Linked DNA regions of Homo sapiens: all the other regions are linked to region 2. The links are contacts of gene promoters, found by promoter capture Hi-C in human tissues and cell types (Jung and others, 2019). All regions are on one chromosome and are shown on one strand. Each heading gives the region's core, a stretch centred on a gene start or on the middle of the fragment in contact. The rest is flanking DNA. Distances are from core to core; before and after follow the strand shown.

Region 1 (3,116 bases), core at 53-2,552, 390 kb before region 2:
GCCTGTAATCCCAGCACTTTGGAAGGCCAAGGTGGGTGGATCACTGGAGGTCAGGAGTTCGAGTCCAGCCTGACTAACATGGTGAAACCTTGTCTCTACTAAAAATATAAAAAATTAGCTGGGCGTGGTGGCGGGCACCTGTAATCCCAGCTACTTGGGAGGCTGAGGCAGGAGAATCACTTGAACCCGGGAGGCAGAGGTTGCAGTGAGCTGAGATCACACCACCGCACTCCAGCCTGGGTGACAGAGCGAGACTCTGTCTCAAAAAAAAAAAAAAAAAAGACAGTAGCCGACTAACATAAAAGGTTAATGTGATAAGAGTTCATGTGTGAGTCATTCTTTACCTCCTTGAATTAGAGGAAATACGATTTAATCTACAGAATATGTAAACATTAATAAAAACTTCCTCATCATTATGAGACACTGAAACTCTATAGGGACTCTTTGGAAACCCTTCAGGAATATTATTATTATGACTTAAAGTGTCCTAGCTAGGAGGCAGGAAGACGGACAAAATGACCAGTAGTCTCCTGGCCCTAGGACTTTAGAGATTTTGTGCAAATAAACATGATACAGTCTCTGGTCCACATACTTAAAGTCCTTTAACCAGGACTGACTTACCCTGAATTGCAGATAGATATACAAAAGTGTCTTCATGTTCCAAGTTTTCCAAGAATATCTGGAACCACAAAATACAGCAGTGATAAGATTTACAAAGAACAAGGAAGATTTAAGAGGCTCCCTTATCAGCAGCTCAAAGGAGTAAATGCTTCGCTTCTTGTTTTTCTTGGGTAGAAACTGGTCTGACAGAGTTTTGTGGGGGAAATGGCATATATGCTTAAGTCTCATTTTTATAACCATTAAAAAAGTATAGAGACTGGGGGAGATACTTGTATTCTTCCAGCAGTAGTCCTGGAAACCGATGGAAGAACAATCCTCAACATTTTTCCATGACAGCCATGGTGAATAACATTCTCACATATGGCATGACAGACTACGGGGTGTGACACACAAGAGACAAGGTTTGGGGTTATGTGCAATGGATGGCACATTTGCTGCAATTTGATCCTTTTCTCTTGTACTCACAAAGCATATGGAAGTGCAAGTGAGATAGAGATGTTATTATTGAGATAACTTTGAATCTGTTCTAATTTATTTTTGAAAATCTTGTAAATTTCAGCACTTTAATTGATATTAGTAACAAATTACTCTCAAAATATCTTACAATTTAGGAACCTATCAGGGGTATCAACTACAGTGAGTACAGCTTATCTGGAAGATATTACATGATATGTTAGGTTTAGGCCCCAACATGAGAGCCAGAGAAAGGAAGACGGAAGTGTCTGCTCCATATATAATGCTGTGTTCTTCGTTGGCACAGTAATTCTTGACATCAACTTGATGCTGCTGGTCTCTACATGTGAAGTATGTACGGAGAGCCTAAAATTACCCCAGTTAGGAAGACGGCCAGTTTTGAAGGTAGGGAATCTTTTATGGAGTAAGCAAGGGAAGCTTAATTTAGGGTAATGGCCATGGAAATAAAGAGGATAAGATACATTTGAAAGACTTCTTTGAAAAAAGAATTGACAGGACTTGGTGACCAATTATGTACAGCAGAAGAAGGTTTAATTAAGCTAAAAAAAATTCCAAGATGTTCATTGAATTCACCTTCAAATAGGTGTATAAAAGGATATTTAAGGCCAGGCGCGGTGGCTCATGCCTGTAATCCCAGCACTTTGGGAGGCCGAGGCAGGTGAATCACTTGATGTGAGGAGTTCAACACCAGCTTGGCTAACATGGTGAAACCTCATCTCAACTAAACGTACAAAAATTAGCTGGGTGTGTTGGTGGGCACCTGTAATCCCAGCTACTTGGGAGGCTGAGGCAGAAGAATCACTTGAACCCAGGAGGTGGAAATTGCAGTGAGCTGAGATCGCACCACTGCACTCCAGCCTGGGCGACGGAGCGAGACCCTGTCTCAAAAAAACAAAACAAAACAAAACAAAAAACAGCTATTTCACCACGATGAAGGGAGAGAAGAGGGGAGGAGACCCAGTTTTGCCCAACGCCCCACTAAAGATGCCCAGAGAAAACAGGTGGCTTATCTGGGCTGGGTCACAGTGTTGAAGCAGACCTATTTATCACAAAAGGTACTTTCCCATCTCTGGGAATTTGTTCAAGCTATCCCACCCCTCTTTCATCTGCTCAAACTTTACTAGTTTGTTATGGCCATATTAAGGCCTACATCCTCCAGAAGATTTCAACTTTCTCTTTTTCCTGACTGCCCACAGCATTTCTTGCATGCAAAAATTTTGAAGGATGGGTGTGGTGGCTCACGCCTGTAATCCCAGCACTTTGGGAGGCCGAGGCAGGTGGATCACGAGGTCAGGAGATCGAGACCATCCTGGCTAACATGGTGCCCGTCTCTACTAAAAATACAAAAAATTAGCCGGGGGTGGTGGCAGACACCTGTAGTCCCAGCTACTCGGGAGGCTGAGGCAGGAGAATGGTGTGAACCCAGAAGGCGGAGCTTGCAGTGAGCCGAGATTGCACCACTGCACTCCAGCCTGGGGGACAGAGCGAGATTCCATCTCAAAAAAAAAAAAAAAAAAAAAAAATTGGCACTCAGTTCATATTCATTTGAGGAGTTTAAGTCTTTCCTGTGTCTAAATAAATCTTTCCTGTGTCTAAGTGTTGCCTCCTCACAAAATTCACAAATTTCTGGAGGGTGGTCCAGAACAGCACTTGACACATAGTCCAGGCTCCAAAAATACTTGAGTTGAATGAATGCCCCACCCTGTGCCCATGTGTCTTTACAGTGTGTTCTACTCACCTTGAGAAGCTTCTCTTGCATCTCAAGGGCTTTTGCTTCTCTCTGCTCTATCCAGTGGGAAAGAGTACGCAGGGCAGCAGCCCGTGTTGGAATTTGAGGGTCATAAGCTGACAAAAGAACCTCTTGGAGCTGTTCTGTGGTTACGCTTCCAGATTTCTGACTTGTAGTAGTGCTGGGCTCATTGACTCCTTGAGGAATGATTGGAGCATTTGACTGCAGGCCTGTCTGGGGGGCTGTCTCATGGCTCTGCTGTTGTTCAAGGTGGCTATGAGCTACATCAGTG
Region 2 (2,912 bases), core at 29-2,528:
ATGTATTTTCACCAATATGTAAATCAATGGATAACCTTAGAGTTGTGACGCTTCTAGAAAATGCCCCCTCTGCCACAAGAATAAATGGGTTCACGAATCAGCCTCACATTAAGGTGAAGGCTGGACTTCTGGCGGTGGGGAGTGAGTTGCTCTATTACATTTTTGTTAAAGCAGAAAAGGACAGACACAAAAAGCTCTGGGAGAATCAGCCCTGGTTTTATTTTTGGTTGTTTTTTATTTTGTTTTGTTTTTGCCTCCTTGCCCAAGAAAGCCCATCTCCAGCCTCTTCCTAGACATGTTCTAACCAGGCTTCTACGGCCCCTTACGGACTCTCTATGGGCCCTGGGTCAGAAGCTGGGGCTCCTCTCTCCACACTTGCCGACAGTCACTTCCTCCTCTACAGTGTTCCATCCTGTGACCCCACTCTCTCCATTTCTTATTGACAAGAGTTCAAAAAACTGGCGTGGCATTCAGGACTCTCAAAACTGACACTTCCCAACGCATCCAATCTCAACTCCTCCCACAAGATCGCACCACACTGGCCCTCTCTACCCCACAGAGCAGCCTCCCCTTTGGGAATCCAGCTCCCCAAAGCCTGGGGTTTTCCATGGCCAGGAGGCTCCGATCGAGCCAAGCAAGTAAGGGAGTCGCCAGGCAGAGAACAATGACTGCTCCAAACACCCTTGGGAGATGGGATGGATAGATGGATGGGATGCCCAGGAGGTTAGGAACGCGTTGCTCACCTGGGGCGCGGCGGTCGGAGGCCTCGGGGCCATTCCTGCCTCGCCAGGGCCCGGCTCCGGGGCAGGAGCTGGGGAGAAAGGACAGGGCCCACTCACCCCGCTGCAACACCGACCCCACCCCGCCCCGCCCCGCCCCACCTCCGCCCCTAAACCACATCTCCAGGGGAGATGGTGGCGAGGACCGTGGAACCAGCCCGGGCCTGCCGCTCCCCATCCCCGAAATGAAAGGCTCAGCGGCCTCCCGGACACCCCCCTCCGGCCACGCCCAGTCCCCTTCGCAGGGTGGTGGGCGAGGCCCGGCTGACACCCGCCAAACCCAGGAGGGGTCCCGCCCAGACCCGCGCACTCAGAATCACCGCCTCTGGGGGGCTCCGGATTTCGCGACCTCCGGCCCACCCAGAGCCTCGGGCAGCTCCTCCCGCCCCCGCCGAAGCCTCGGTTATCTCCAATTCTGATCTGCGGAGGGGCTGCCCAAAGGGGCCTCAGCCGCACCGGGGTCGGACAATGGCCGCAGCGGTGGGGCAGAACTGGAAGTGCGCCTGCGCACTCGGAGCCTCGCTCCTGCAACCCCGGGTCCACGCCGGGCGCGCGAACTACACTTCCCAGAGGCCCGCGCGCGCAGGCCCCGCCTAGGCGGCTTCCGAAGGCGCGTTAGGGACCCTTGCGAGGGCCGAGGGAGGCGGCCAGTGTGGCTCGAGTGTGCGTGTCCCTGTATTCCAGTCACTGTCCGCCTCCTCTTTGCAAGGGGCTTGTTGCTAGCTGGGGAATCGGCCGGGAAAGACCCTGGTTTCGGGGAGCAATCGTACGCCCCTTTCGACGAGGCTGACGATAAAAACGCAAACATGTCAACAAGATAATGTCAGGTCCTGACTTCAGCGGTAAGAGTGACACAGGAAGGGAGTGAGACAGCGTCAGAGGGTGGGGCATTTACATCTTCTTCAAAAGGCAATTTTCCATTTCTCATTTTAGAGAAAAAAGAAACTTCGGACAAATCCGTGGCCTCCTGAGCAATGTGCAAAGGCAGATCTACTGCCGTGTTATTTCATTACTTCGTATCCCCTTACGCAGGATTTTGTTTGGGACAAGCAAACAATGATGGAAATTTTCTTTTTTTTTTTTGAGACACAGTTTCGCTCTTGTTGCCTAGGTTGGAGTGCAATGGCGCGATTTTGGCTCACCGCAGCCTCCGCCTCCTGGGTTCAAGCGATTCTCCCGCCTCAGCCTCCCGAGTAGCTGGGATTACAGGCATGCGATGCGTCACCAGGCCCGTCTAATTTTGTATATTTAGTAGAGACAGGTTTTCTCCATGTTGGTCATGCTGGTCTCGAACTCGCCTCGGCCTCCCAAAGTGCTGGGATTACAGGCATGGGCAACCGCGCCCGGCCCGATGGAAATTTTCAACACAAAGATAGGTCAACTTTTAGATACAGCTATTACGTTTATGTAATTATGTCTTATATATCACAGACATTCAGGCTACATTTCCTAGATTTCAGCTTGATTTCTTAACATTAGAGCATTGCATACCAACATGGTAGAAAATGACTGCAACGAAATGTTCCTGATGTCACACTGCTTTATCAAAAATATGAACATTCAAAAATAAATGCTTTATGCCGGGTGCGGTGGCTCAAGCCTGTGATCCCAGCACTTTGGGAGGCTGAGGCTGGCGGATCACCTGAGGTCAGGAGTTCGAGACCAGCCTGACCAACATGGAGATAGCTCGTCTCTACTAAAAATACAAAATTAGCCAGGCTTGGTGGCGCATGCCTGTAATCCCAGCTACTCAGAAAGCTGAGGCAGGAGAATCGCTTGAATCTGGGAGGCAGAGGTTGTGGTGAGCCGAGATTGCACCATTGCACTCCAACCTGGGCAACAACAGCAAAACTCCATCTCAAAAAAAACAAAACAAAAAAGGGAGAAAATTTCCATCACTGTTGGCTTGTCCCAAACACAAAATCCTGCGCAAGGGGCTAACAAGTAATGAAATAACACGTCAATAGCACAGGGAGGCTGAGGAGGGAGGAGCCCAGGAATTAAAAGACCAGCTTGGGCAACATGGCAAAACCCTGTCTCTACAAAAAATACAAACATTAACTGGTTGCAATAGTGTGCGCCTGTGGTCCCAGCTACTTGGGAGGCTGAGGTGGGAAGATCGTTTGAACCCGG
Region 3 (2,892 bases), core at 257-2,756, 260 kb before region 2:
CTCCCCATGCAACCTGATCCCCTGGGCTGATTATAGGAAATTGTAGGAAAGATTGAAAGGTTCTTCAGCTCCAGAAAGGCTCTGGGAAGCTCACTGTCACGCTGGCAAGGGCTGGGTTGTCTCTGAGCCCAGCAAGTGGGAGGAAAGAAGAATGGCAAAATGTTGAAACTGGAGGATCAGAATACGGGGACTGGGTATATTTCAACATGCCCATAAAAAAAGCTAACAAAAATAAAGCTAACAAGGGTCTAAGTGTTCTTTAACCCAGTATGCCCACCTTTCATAAACTTATTTGGTGACTTGGTGTAAAAACCAAATCCCAACAAAAGAAGCTAAGACCCCACTCCCCACTACTGGCCATCTCCATGTGGGAAAGTCTTTTTTTTTTTTGAGACAGAGTGTCACTCTGTCACCCAGGCTGGAGTGCAATGGTGCAATCTGGGCTCACTGCAACCTCTGCCTCCCAGATTCAAGCAATTCTCCTGCTTCAGCCTCCCGAGTAGCGGGGATTACAGGTGCACACCACCACGCCCAGCTAATTTTTGTATTTTTAGTAGAGACAAGGTTTCACCATGTTGGCCAGGCTGGTCTCGAACTCCTGACCTCAAGTGATCTGCCCGCCTCTGCCTCCCAAACTGCTGGGATTATAGGTGTGAGCCACTGTGCCCAGCTGGGAAAGTCTTTTCATTACAATATCATCACCATCATCAAAAACTGCAGCCTCAACTAAGCTTCAATTAGCTTTTATGAACTATTTTATTCAGATTTTATTTAATTTTATTTGTGTGCTTTTTGAGACAGGTCTCTGTCACCTAGGGTGGAATGCAGTGGTGCAAACACTGCTCACTGCAGCCTTGGCTTTCGGGGCTCAAGCAATCCTCCTGCTTCAGCCTCCTGAGTAGCTGGGGCTACAGGTACATGCCACCATGCCTGGCTAATTTTATTTATTGTAGAGATGGGGTCTGACTACGTTGCCCAGGCTGCTCACAAACTCCTGGGCTCAAGCCATCTTCCCGCTTTGGCCTCCCAAAGTGCTGGGATTACAGAAGTGAATGACTGAGCCCAGCCTCATTTTAATTTTTTGAGAAAGGGTTTTACTCTGTCACCCAGGCTAAAGTGCAGTGGCACAAACGCTAGCTCACCGCAGCCTCAGCTTCCTGGGCTCAAACCATCCTCCCACCTCATCCTCCAGAGTAGCTGAGACTACAGGTGTACTCCACCGCAGCAAATTTTTAATTATTGTTTGTAGGGACAGGGTCTCGCTATGATGCCAAGCCTGGTCATGAACTTCTGACCTCAGGTGATCCACCTGCCTCAGCCTCCCAAAGTTCTGGGATTACAGGCATGAGCCATCATGCTTGGCCTATTTTATTAGTATTTTAAACATGTGTAGAATATTAATGTGCCATGCTCTATTTTAAGCATGTGCTGCCACACCCAGCTAATTTTTGTATTTTTTGTATTTCAGCAAAAAATGTAATTTTATGTTTACAGGACTAGATGGGGTTTTGCCACGTTGCCCAGGCTGGTCTTGAACTCCTGGCCTCAAGCGATCCACCAACCTCAGCCTCCCAAAGTGCTGGGATTACAGATACAAGTATTGTGCCTGGCCAGGAGGCAGTTTGAAAACAACAACAACATATTTTCCTTATATATCCTTGTATTACTTGGCCTGTTACAATTAGAATGAATTCTTTTTTTTTTCATGACAAAAACTAGTAAGAATGACTTTTAAAAAGTGTTTTTAATACTCTGTCATCCCTGCATGCTGCTATTAAACCTACGGTGCCCCACTTTCTAGCCTACTGGGCAAAAGTAGCTTTCAAGAGAGGACCCCAAGAGAGATGACTGATGTTCAAATACAAATGAAACCCAAGTTCATGAAAAGCTTTTGGTCCTGGGGCAGGCTCTGAGCATTCAGCAACATTCCTTGCTTGAAATTGCCATCATGCCACACGGAACAGTCCCACTTTGACGATCCCGTTTCTTCTCCCACGCCCGCCTGGTCCCATAACTGGAATGTGAGTGGGTAGAAACAAGACAGTCTCAAAAGCTTCTATATTATTTTCAGACGATGTTGGGATTTAAGGACAGGGCCAGCTATGGAAGGCAGCAAACCATAGTTGAGTTGTTTGGTAACCAGTGGGATAACCTAGTATCTTAGACGTAACTAGTTGGAAGCAGTGTTTTGCCCACCCTGCATACAAAGGGGCACATTATGGATTGCCTCCCTCTCATCAGAACACATTTCCCACAGCGAACACCAAAGAATACTGCATTTAGCAATTCTTTTTTTTTTGTTTTTAAAGACAGAGTCTCGCACTGTCACCCGGGCTGGAGTGCCATGGCAGGATCTCAACTCACTGCAACCTCCACCTCCCGGGTTCAAGCCATTCTCCTGCCCCAGCCTCCCGAGTAGCTGGGATTACAGGTGCCTGCCACCACGCCCGGCTAATCTTTTGTATTTTTAGTAGAGACGGGGTTTCACTATGTTGGCCAGGATAACCTCGAACTCCTGACCTTGTGATCCGCCTGCCTTGGCCGCCCAAAGTGCTGGGATTACAGGCATAAGCCACCGCACCCGGCCTGCATTTAGCTTTATTCAAAGACCATTTGAACTTGAGAGCTCAGCCTCAGTTACACATAAAAACTGGAGGACAAGATCAGAGAACTGGCTGGGCATGGTGGCTCATGCCTGTAATCCCAGCACTTTGGGAGGCCGAGCCAGGTGGATCACCTGAGGTCAGGAGTTCAAGACCAGCCTGGTCAACATGGTGAAACCCCGTCTCTACTGAAAATACAAAAAATTAGCCAGGCATGGTGGCGGGCACCTGTAATCCCAGCTACTCAGAAGGCCAGGACAGGAGAATTGCTCGAACACAGGAGGCAGAG

The links. Contacts are between HindIII fragments. The study calls those that stand out against the background at their distance.
Region 1: a contact is called between a fragment that was not itself captured here and the fragment with the promoter of ZFP90 in region 2, in 6 of the 25 tissues and cell types used here (H1 embryonic stem cells, heart left ventricle, liver and 3 more).
Region 3: a contact is called between a fragment that was not itself captured here and the fragment with the promoter of ZFP90 in region 2, in 14 of the 25 tissues and cell types used here (H1 embryonic stem cells, IMR-90 fibroblasts, adrenal gland and 11 more).

Annotation. Positions count from the first base shown.
Region 1 is chr16:68,927,801-68,930,916 of GRCh38, reverse strand. It overlaps TANGO6 (transport and golgi organization 6 homolog), which reads right to left. Exons shown (of 18, transcript NM_024562.2): 13 at 2,834-3,116; 14 at 622-679. Among named protein-coding and RNA genes, the nearest start is that of TANGO6, 86 kb to the right of the region's middle. The HindIII fragment of the contact is 4,152 bases long and covers 1-3,116 here.
Region 2 is chr16:68,537,657-68,540,568 of GRCh38, reverse strand. It overlaps ZFP90 (ZFP90 zinc finger protein), which reads right to left and starts at 1,278. Exons shown (of 5, transcript NM_001305203.2): 1 at 1,090-1,278; 2 at 744-811. The coding sequence starts at 776. The HindIII fragment of the contact is 20,432 bases long and covers 1-2,912 here.
Region 3 is chr16:68,795,577-68,798,468 of GRCh38, reverse strand. The region is part of intron 2 of CDH1 (cadherin 1); the gene reads right to left. Among named protein-coding and RNA genes, the nearest start is that of TANGO6, 47 kb to the left of the region's middle. RefSeq lists enhancers at 2,263-2,763, 2,764-2,892. The HindIII fragment of the contact is 4,503 bases long and covers 1-2,892 here.